Regions from separate parts of the Homo sapiens genome. Here region 2 is linked to region 1. Evidence: promoter capture Hi-C in 16 types of primary human blood cells and fetal thymus (Javierre and others, 2016). All regions are on one chromosome and are shown on one strand. Each heading gives the region's core, a stretch centred on a gene start or on the middle of the fragment in contact. The rest is flanking DNA. Distances are from core to core; before and after follow the strand shown. Region 1 holds the start of CASD1 (CAS1 domain sialic acid O acetyltransferase 1). Region 2 holds the start of PPP1R9A (protein phosphatase 1 regulatory subunit 9A).

Region 1 (5,503 bases), core at 1,437-3,936:
CATCCCTTAACCAAGGTAACAGCAAGTGGATAGAGAGGGGGCAACACAGTTGAGAGTTATTTAGAAGAAAGCAAGGATGACTCAAACACTTGCTTGGACGGCTGGGTTAATGATGAAAACTTAGGCATAAAGGTTGAAAGTAGATAAAGGAGAAGGAAGGTGATGAGTTTGTTTAGGAAATGATATATATTAGGTACCTGAAGGATATCCTAGTAGGCAGATGGTTCTTACAGCATGAGGATAGATAAATATGGACTGACATATCAGGTGTGTGTGTGTGTGTGTGCGCGCGCGTGTGTATAAGGAAGGTGATCCCATGGCAGTGGTGGGACCACTAAATAATGACTAAGTGATCCTAAGGTCACTTAAAAACAGCAAGAAGTGGCTGAAAACAAAGTCTCCGCTCTGTTTTAGATGGATACCAAATAAGGAAGAATGGTCAACAATGTCAGGTGCCACAAAATGGTCCAGGAAGATAAGGAATATAAAGTGTCCCTTGGATTTAACAAGTAGTCATACCACACAGCCTTGGTGAAGAACAATGAAATGGCTGAAGAGAGAATGCTAATTGAGCCAGTGAAGGCAGAGAGTCAACACTGCTCTTTCTAGATGTTTGCCAGAGGAGGAAAGAGTTGATGAGGTAAACATGCAGGAACAGAGTCCATGGGTGTTTTTCATTAAAAAAAAATTTTTTTTGGAGGAAGGCAAACAGCAAGGTGATAGGGAGAATTGGAAGACACAGAAAAAGAATGATTTGCATGGGGATAACTGATGGAGGAATCAACACCCTCAAGAAAGGAGGATAAGAAAAGATTCAGAGCAGAGGTAGAGAGATTGGCCTTAAACTTGAGAGAAGAAAAAGGAGGTTCACAAGCTATTTACAGTATTTAAGAAAGCCTTCTGGAAATTGCAATTAATAGAATGTCAAGTTTCTTTACTTTTTGCAGGCATTAACTCAACCCTTTGGGTTAACACTGGTTATTGCATGCTGATCAGAAATTCTAATTTGCTGGTAATGACATCATAGAAATGTCTAGGATGTGATTGGCAGACCATATATTGTTGGCAGAGTTATCTGGTTTTTACAATACCCAATTCTTACAACATGTGATCAACCTCTGATCAGAATGACAGCCAAAATTAAAAGACTATTTGCAGGGAACAGTGCCTAAGTGTTTGTACACTTATTTAACTTTATTGCTTATTAGCATTACATCCATGACAGTGATGTATGTGATTTCATTTAAGTGACAAAATCTTTCAAGATATAAAGTCCATGGATGAAAACATAATAAAGAGTCCTTGGATGAAGAGAATGGGAATGAGTAGACAAGATCTCTACAGTCCCTTCATATCTAATATTCTATAATTTTAAGAGGGGCCTATAAGCACAAGTTCAGGAATGGCTAAATGGGAAAGTTGTAAAGAATACTTGACAACACCCCAACTAAACAATGACTCACTCTAAACAAGGCAAGGCAAGTAGAATGGCAAGCAATGTAAATAACCATTCCCATCTGGAAGGCAACAAGAAAAACCATTTAAAAAAGGTGGGGTGGGAGCGAGAGGAGAGTAGGGATAACAATGCTTTATTAAGGAAATGGAGTGCTGGCTTTATTGAGAATCACAAAACATTAACCAACGTTAGTAGCGGGGATGATTGTCATAAGCACATTAAGAAAAATTTTTTTTGGCTAGGCTTGGTGGCTCATGCCTGTAATCCCAGCACTTTGGGAGGCCGAGATGGGCAGATCATTTGAGGTCAGGAGTTCGAGACCAGCCTGACCAAAATGGTGAAACCCCCGTCTCTATTAAAATACAAAAATTAAACGGGTGTGGTGGCGGGCGCCTGCAATCTCTGCTACTCGGCAGGCTCAGGCAGGACAACCATTTGAACCCAGGAGGGGGAGGCTGCAGTGAGCGAAGATCACGCCACTGCACTAGAGCTTGGGCGACAGGGTGAGACTCCCTCTCAAAAAAAACGAATTTTTTTGGCACATCGACCTAGCCAAACTTGCGTAAATACAAGTGAGAGTCAGACTCTTTTCTCATCAACACCTACACTAAGTTAGGCTCCTTCTGTACCTTCCATTCGGAACTTTGGTGTACTTTCGCCCACCAGAACTGGGCAAACTGAGGACATTAAAAAAACGGTTTAAGAGAAACTGGCCAGAGCGGTGAGTTAAGTGTTAAGACTGGTTTCACTCCTGGGTTGGATGCCAGCAATCCATCGGCCAGCACCATCAACTGGATCCATCAATCCAATCTGGCCAGCACCCAGGGGCAGCCAGACTGACCAGCCAGGCCACGGATAGCCAGACAATAAACGACCTTAGGGTGTCCTTCGCATCCCGCTGGGCGGGTTCTGGCAGTAGAAGGCTGAGAAAGGGGAGTGTTGGGGAAGGAAGGAATGGGACGATGTGTACTTTTCTCCCGGAACTGTAGTTCTATTGCCCCAACCTGGGCTCAGGTAGCGGCCAGTAAACTAGGAGACAGCCCTAAGGCTCGCGTCCGGGCCAGGCGGGTACCCCTAGTACTCTCTCCCCACACCCCCATGGCTCTGCCGCAGCCGCCGCCGCCCGCCGGGGCGCGTGACCCGGTGACCCCGGAGCACTGGGCATCCGGACCCCCCTCGCAGGCGCAGCCGCTATTAAGGCAGGAGGCTAAAGAGGAGGAGGAAGGGGAGGAGACAGGCGTCCAGGGCGCCTGGGGAACCGGCACGGCGGAGCAGCGGCGGCGGGGCTGGGGGGAGGCCGCCGAGTCGGCCGCGGCCGAGGAGGGGCAGGCGGAGGTCGGGGGCGCCGCGGCCGCGGGGTCAGGTTCCCCGGCGGGAGGCGCAGGTGGCGGCCTGGGGAGCTGGCGGCCGCTCCTCGCCTGGCTGCAGCGGCGGCAGCCCCAGTGCTGCCCCTGTGCGGCGCCCCTTTCCCGCTCCGCCGCGCACTGTTGTCATGGAGGAACCAAGATGGCGGCTCTGGCCTACAACCTGGGCAAGCGGGAGATCAACCACTACTTCAGCGTGAGGAGCGCCAAGGTGCTGGCGCTGGTGGCCGTGCTGCTGCTCGCAGCGTGCCACCTCGCCTCCCGCCGCTACCGAGGTGAGCGGGCCCTCCCCTCTGCCCGGGCAGGCCGTGGGGGAGGCGGCGACGCGGCGGCTGGAGGCCGCCCCCATCGCCCAACACACGCCCACGCGGCCTTCCGCCGGCCCGGCCCGCGGGGGAGGCGGTTCCCCCAGGTGTCCCCAGCAGCGGCCGGCGCCCGAGGCCAACTGAGTGGACCCCAGTGGGGGCCACCAAAGGACAATGGCTGGTGGTTCTGGGCGCCCCGAGCCGCCCGCGCTGGGGTCGGGGGCGCCAACCCTGGACCTGGCCAAAAGTGCTGCTGAGGTCCGGCTCCTGAGCGGTCTGGGTTCGGGGAGACGCTCCAGATCAGGGGCTCGCGTGCAGGAAGTCGGACAGGCGGTCCTTGGGGGCAGCCCGGGGCGCATGAAGCCCAAGGCCGCCCTGCAAGGGGCACCGCTGCCAGCAGTGGGGTCGCAGGTCCTGCCTCTTAAGGGTCCGGCTCCTTAGCCTTTGTTTAATTTTGCCTCTGCCCTGTAACACCCAGTCTGGGCTGTTGGACAGCGGCAAGGGCCGCCCCCATTTTCCTTTGCCAAAAGGGCGACAGCTGGCAAAAGATGCCTGTGGCCAAATGGAAGAGGTGCCACCCAGCTTTTGTGATGCAGAAACGTTTAAAGGCTTCGGAGTGCACACTTTTTACAAAGTTAAGGCACCAGAGCAGATTTTTGGAAGGAAGTTGTGGGTTGACAGGCGTAAAGGTGGGCAGTTGAAAGCAAGTTGTAAGCACTTTGAAAGCAGGCCTTGGCCATGGGTTTTGAAATTGGTGTAAAGGGGAAAAGGAAATATGACCTGATTTGAGAATGAATTATCTTTCAGTAATCAAGGGATATTTACTTCTCCTTGCTGATTGATTGTTTTTTTTCCTTTGTAAAAATGTCACTGGGAGAGAGGCTGACAGGCAGAGGGAAATTAATAATGATAGGATCTTTTATTTTTGGCTCTTAATACTATCAAAGCCATTATCTGGCCAGCTCTTGGTGACTGTGAGATTAATCAGTCAAGATGTAATGTGTAATGGACAGGTGCAAATTAGCGCTGTGCCCGTTTAAATTTACACCTACTTTGGCAAAATATCCATAAACGGGTTGTTGGAGTCTGCGCTGTATTCTCATCCCAGGAGATCTTTCAATTTTGGTCAGTTTTGCTGCTTTATTTCTTCCAACTCTTGAGAATTAAAAATATTGTACTCTAGAGCCATACTGGGTGAACAGCTTTTAGTATACTAAATTGATTTTAAAAATTAGATTCTTTATAACCTTTTGGCCTCTCTCCAGCTCTCTCCAGATCACAGCCATACGACCTTGCAAGGCCTTGGTTTATCTACAATCATGTAAAACTAGCAATGTTGATGCATTGATTTGTGGTGGTTTTGAGGAAATATTTCTTTTAACTACTATTAATCATTTTATGCCAATTTGGTATAAAAGAACAGTAATTTAATTCAATTTATGTAATGGTAGTAGAGAGAAATTTTATAACTACAGTACTATTGTCCTAAGATAAATAAACATCTAGTCCCCTTCCTTTTATTTTTTTGTGCTTTTTATCTTTTGATAACCTTGGACTACTATTATTTTTAGATTATAGATTTCATCTTATCAAGATCTGTCATCAGCAGGGAGAATAGAATGTCAGATGGGGACTTATGAGTCAGTGTAGCAATCTGGGATTGTTTATAAAGCCTTCTCCAGAAGTAAGTCATCAGTTTCCATAGGTACTTCAGTGCCTTGAGTGTGAAGCATACACCTGGTGAGTGTACTTGCCCAGACTGAATGTCAAGAATTTGAGCTGAAGACTGGGAAAAATAAACATCTTACCAGGAATATCCTCATGCTTTGGCAGTATCAAACTGAGTCAGGTGCAATGCCCTTCACACAAAGATAATCATACATTTGACTCACATTATAACTCTTTAGGACAGAGGTGGCCAATCTTTTGGCTTCCGTGGGCCCCATTGGAAGAAGAAGAACTGTCTTTGGGCCACACATAATATTAACACTCATGATAGCTGATGAGCTTAAAAAAAATTGCAAAAAATCTCGTATCATTTAAAGAAGGTTTACGAATTTGGGCTGCATTCAAAGCCATCCTGGGCCTCCAGCAGCCCAGGCCATGGCTTGGAAAATCTTGCTTTAGAATAAGAAAGGATCTTACATTAGATGAAGGAGATTAGGCTGTGTATTTGGATTTTGAATGTGTGAGTATGAGTGTGCTGAGGCAAGGTAGAGTGAATGCAGTTTGGATATACATATTCAGTATCTCTTGCTTTACAAACTACCGAAAGTAAAGGAAAGAATTACCCACTACAGAAAGTAAAGCTTGGCGAATACTGTGTGCTAACGTTGAGCACTTATATGTCAGGGACTGTTCTACTAAAGGTTTTACAT
Region 2 (5,503 bases), core at 2,053-4,552, 400 kb after region 1:
GTATCACTTTAGCCTAAACACACTGTGTAAATTTGTTGTTGTTTATTTGTAGAGATAAGATATTAGTAACTTAAAAATGACCTAAAGGAATCCCGAAGAGTTCTACAGTTCATTACTCATGGCAAGTAAAACTAAATACTCAACCTTATGAACTTTTAAAGCTGAAAATCCAAGATACTTGTAGAATGGGAAATGGACAGAGATGATGGTTTAAATTTTCAGTGGCATGTCCAAGCCATGAGTGTAGGTAGAAAGCCATGCTGAATCATTATCAATTTATTGGGGTAGAAATGACACCTTTAATGTTAATTTTATAGCTAACATCACAAAATAAGACTGATCATAGATATCTTTGAATCTGAATGTGAGCCTGAGGACTATTTTAGAGAAGTATATTCTACCTCTATGATGGAGTTTGTGTGAAATATTATAAGACTCAAAAGTAAACTTAAACTTTTATCCTCAAATACAGATATTTATTTTAAAGAGACCTTTAAGAAAATTGAATATCAACATTCAAGACTGAAGTCAACAAAGCATTCTGTGATACTTACAAATGTGAAATAAGTAGTTATAATTAAACTTTTAATTAAAAAGCTGCCTCGTCACTATCAAAACATTATGCATATCGGTAAGAAAACAGTGGTATGAATAACATGTCCTTTTACGCTACAATTATGTGTAAAATTACCTACTGAAATTGCTCTCCCATTACTTTGCCTTCTCCATAAAGAAGTTAAGTCTAGAGACCTTTTAGTTTGTTCTGGTCTTTTCTCTCCCTTCAGGAACTTCCATTAGTACACAACCAGCTAGGTATCTTCCTGTTAGAAATGAAAGTGTGATGGGCAGTCTTTAGTACCAGCTTAGCCAGTTTTCCCTAGTCTTAAAATTTGATTCAGGCTTAGTTTGGGCTTAATTTCACAGCTGCACCCAATGATTCACATACACACATGAATAACTTAATTCTTTGAATAGTTCTTAGAATGTCCATCACGAAAACTTAAAAATACATTGAGAAAACCCCTAAAACAATATAGAATATACTTTGTACTTTTTGTTTATCCTCTAACCTTGTGACCACATGGTTAATACTAATCATGGTATTATTGGTTGCAAAGGAAATGAAAATAACAGCCCACAATATTCTATATAATTTATGAAAGGTTAAGGTATCATATATGAAAACTGAGAACTCCCCCACCCCAAACACATTTTGGATTTTTTGCATGTCAGTAATGAAGTTCACTTTTCACCACCTTTCCAGTTGGAACATATAAAATGTATGACCTCTAATGCCTAATACATTAATGATCTATTGAACTAAGTTAACCCTTATAAAGTTCATAGAAGTGAAAATGTGGTCTAGAACAACACTGTTTGATAGAACTTTCTGTGATGGAAATGTTGCGTATCTACACTGTGCAACAGAGTGGCCACTAGGCACATGTAGCCATCAAGCCTTTCAAATGCGGCTTGTGTGACTAAGGAACTGAATTTTAAATTGTATTTAATTTTAATTAAAGTTAAATAGCCGCATGTATTGGATTAGCAGTCTAATAGACCCTTCAAACATTCAAGTAAGTGTTGGAAATGGAAGGTCCATTATAGGAAATCTAGGAATCTTAAATTCTCACCATCGGGTTTAAAACTCTATCATTCCTTCAGTATGAACTTTTCCAGAAGTTTCAGATTTTCAAAAGATAAAACTCAAACCAACCAAATCCTTTAGGGTGCTTTTCTGTATGAATCATCTTTCTGCAAAGAGGTGTAAGACTGTCTTTATTGCCAACTCTGCCCCCTCTTCTACAGACAGAACTCAGTGATTAGATTCTGCATTTATTTAGGTTATTCGCCTAAAAAACCTGGTTTCCATACTGCAAATAAATGACAGGAACTTTTCCACTAGATTATCCCAGACAGCAGAAATGTTCTTTCCAAAAGTGGAGCCTGGAACCACAGCCCCCTCACATTGCCTGTTACATCTGTTTATGCTTATAGAAGTGACATCCACTTCGTAGACAGAGAATGCCAATTTCTTGGGAAAGGACCCAGAATTTGGTGATGCTTAAAGGAAAAAAAAGCCCTTGCTGCTTAAAATTAAAAAATACATAGAACTGAGTATTGAGTAGTTACAAAATCCTTCTGAAATGAAAAGATTTTGCTCCCAGAGTATATAGAATTTGTGTACGGACTTGCCTGGGTTCATATTCAGCCATAATCATTTACTATTAATAGCCAATAAAGAAGCGGGTAAGTTACAAAACCTAAACCTTAGTTTTTCCATCAGTGAAATGGGGCTAAAAATAGTTATGTTGGGAAAACTTGTGAAAGACTTTGAAATGAGCAAAAGATTACTGTTTGTCCTTTCAATGGAATGCTGGATGTTATCTACAGGACTCCGGAGTGTTGTGAAATTTACAGTCGTCTGCACCTTACTTAGACTGACTTTCACTAGGCTATTTTACTACTCAGTAAGCTGTAGAAACGTTTGGTAATGTAAATGAGTTTTATCTACAGAATGCAAATTTGTTACTTTACAGATACAACTGGTTACCGCCCTGTAAAGCAGATAATAATAAACATTACATTTCAGTGCTCTATAGAATAGTAAGCAGATTTGCCTCTTCTTGCCTCTATGTCTACTCTTCACAGTCTCACGTGAATGGGTTGCAGTATCTTGCTGGGGTTCCCTTCCTAATTAAAAGAGTTATAAAAATTTTGACCAATGTTCATTTTATATTTCTACCATTGTCATGTTTTTACCTTCTTGAAAAATTATTTTTTAAGAGTTCCTGCTCCCTAGGCTTTTTGGAAGGATTGGTTTAAACATCTGTATTGACAGTCATGATCAGTTTTATATCTTGCAGGAAGGTGGTAACACTTCCGGTACTTGGGGGTGTAAGAGGTTGTACTGAGCCTTTAGAAAAGGGCGGGGTTCGGGGGGGAGTGAGCTGAAAAACTCTCCCTAGACAGGAAAGGTAGAAGACCTCCTCATCCCTTTCTCTTTGGCAGTGAGATCTTAAGGTCAAGGTGAGTAGTAGGCCAGGCGCAGTGGCTTAGGTGAAGGCCACACCAGACTTGGGCCTACGTCTTGGCCTTCCAGGTCAGCAGAGTGGCCTGGGACTTGGATGCCTTGGGGTCACGGAGTTAACTGCAGACTCAGACTAAGTGGGGCCCCAGCAGCGGTCAGCCCCAGAACCAAGTTCCGGAGCCAACACCCGAACAGGAAGGGGCCTTGCCCCAGGCCGGAGAGGCCCCTCGCCCACGGCCGAGGGGGTGGGGCGGCCTCGCCTCGGGCCGGTGCTTTTCGCCCTTCCTTGGCCGCCAGAGGCTCCCTCTCTCTCCCTCTCCCGGGATTTTGCTGCCGGGCTCCCTCTCTCTGCGGCCCTAGAGTTAATCCCATCAGCCGAGGTGAGGCACCTGTTACCCCGGCCTTCCTCACCCCCGCGGCCTCTCCTCCATTACACCGCGGCCGCCGAAACGGCCCGGCGTGGCGACCGCACGTGGGCCAAACCCCTTCCCCGGCCGGCACCCCTGGCCCCAGGCCGGCCCGAGCGTGCGGGCGCGTCGCTGCTCGGGCCGCCGCCCGCCCGCAATGGCGTTGGGGAGCGCAGCGCGCCTCCCGGGGCCGCCCGCCGCGGGCAGGGAGCGCCTGGGGGCCGACGCGCGAGTGGAAGCGGCCGCCGCAGCCGCCCTACGCGCTGCGCCGTGAGGAGCGGGTTGCGGTGTACCCAGCGGGCCGGCGCCGAGCCGAGCCGCCGCGTCCACCGTGGGGCGGGGGGCGCCTGCGAGGAGGGGGTGGGAGCCGCGGCGGCCCGACCCTCCCCGCCCGCGGCGCTCCCGCTCGGGTAAGGGGGAGGCTGAGCGCGGGGCGAGGAGTTGGGGAGGGTGGAGAGGAGGAAAAAATCGGCTTGTACAAAGGCTGAGTTGCAGGCTGGGGGTGGGGGTGGGTTGTGGTGGAGGAGCAATAGGTTGAAGATCGGAGGCATTATCAGTGGGATCTATTGTTTCCTGGCACATTGGGAGGAAAAACAAAGGGATTTATTTTCATTACCCTGTAATTTTTTTTCTTTTCTATTTTTTTAAATGTGGCCAGGGAGCTCGTCTCTCTCCGTGTCACAGTGGGATCCGCCTGGCAGCCGCCGGGAGCTGCAGCCAATGTGTTAGGACTTCAGGTGCTTCTTGGCACAAAGCTAGACTGCGACCTCCTACCATAGCGCTTGGCGTCACCTGCTCTCCCGGTCCTGCCCCAGGGCCGAGGGATTGCGTCCCGAACCGGGCTTGGGAATCGGCTGCCTCTCAAGTTGGTGTTATTTATGTTTGTCTTTTGTGAGGGCAGGTTTTGAATCCCCCGGCGGCCCCATCTCCCCCGCCCCCGCCTCCTTGGGTTGGAATTGGCGGGGGAGGGAATGGGGGGTGTGTGTAGGGGAGAGGGGAGGGTGTTTGTGGCTTTAAAAAGAATGGTCAGGGTAAAAGGAGATTGTCGATGCTTTACAAAAAAAGAAAAAAACAGGCACCACACTCCAAAGCCTTTCTTGTTTGTCTGCATGGGCCATGCATGCGTGCTGGGCCAGGAGCCGAGTTTGGAGACGGTTTAAGTGAAAGTGTGTGCCTCCTCAGCTGATTGTGCGTGAGGGTGATGTGGCTCGGTCTAATATCAAAACAAAACAAAAATAAAATGAAAAATCTTTAGAACTGCCTGCATTGTCTGCTCCTCAGCATATCTTGAAGTATTTGATTGCTGGCTTATTGATATAAAATCCTGCTGTGGGCTTAAAGAGACCAGCAAGCATGCATTGCGTTGCGTGTTGAACTGTAGTAAGTTAGAGGCAAGAAAGAATAAACAAATCAGGGCTGTGAAAAGGGGTGTCACAGTATATTTGCTTTCTGATTGTCACATTCTTACGCATTTATTCCCTTGGTAGTCTGCATCCCACTCCATAATTAATAATAACCACTGTTAGGAAACTTCCAAATACTTGTTATAACTGAACTTAGTGAAACTTATTGCTATTCAGGAACTTTTTTTCTCCTTGTTTTGATCTGAAATTGCATTAGTATTGCTTTGGGGATGCTGTAGATGAGAACATTGGACCAAAAAAAGTAAAATATGCCGCTGTAGGCATGTTTTGGAGTTTGTAAACATAGATTCCAAACTTAATTGTACTTAGAAAGAATAAGTTCTACCTAATTGTGGAGAATCCTAAATGAAGTTGATTTTCTGGACAGTTTGATGATTTCTTAAAGATCGATGAACTGCTGGTTTCTTTTTAAAGGGCATTCACAAAAGCGACCAAAACTTGGGCTAAAGTATTGCTTTCAAATATACTTATGTGTAGCTTGTATTTGTGAGTGTGTGTATGTGTTTGTGTGTGTGTGAGATTTTGATAGGTATCTCCAAATTGTGTTTGGAACTTTTTTTTTTTTTTTTTTACCAAAGACCAATCAGAATGATAACTTTTTGACTTTTAACTTCCCATTTCAATGAGTAATCTCTTCTGTT

The links. Contacts are between HindIII fragments. The CHiCAGO score rates a contact against its expected background, and 5 or more counts as called.
Region 2: a contact is called between the fragment with the promoter of PPP1R9A here and the fragment with the promoter of CASD1 in region 1, in 1 of 17 cell types (endothelial precursors). The highest score is 5.9, in endothelial precursors.

Annotation. Positions count from the first base shown.
Region 1 is chr7:94,507,123-94,512,625 of GRCh38, forward strand. CASD1 (CAS1 domain sialic acid O acetyltransferase 1) reads left to right here and starts at 2,687. Exons shown (of 18, transcript NM_022900.5): 1 at 2,687-3,095. The coding sequence starts at 2,963. RefSeq lists enhancers at 1,972-2,960, 2,961-3,947 and silencers at 2,481-2,700, 2,741-2,890, 2,991-3,350. The HindIII fragment of the contact is 8,005 bases long and covers 1-5,432 here.
Region 2 is chr7:94,904,292-94,909,794 of GRCh38, forward strand. It overlaps PPP1R9A (protein phosphatase 1 regulatory subunit 9A), which reads left to right and starts at 3,303. Exons shown (of 20, transcript NM_001166160.2): 1 at 3,303-3,411. RefSeq lists an enhancer at 3,360-4,120. The HindIII fragment of the contact is 9,522 bases long and covers 1-5,503 here.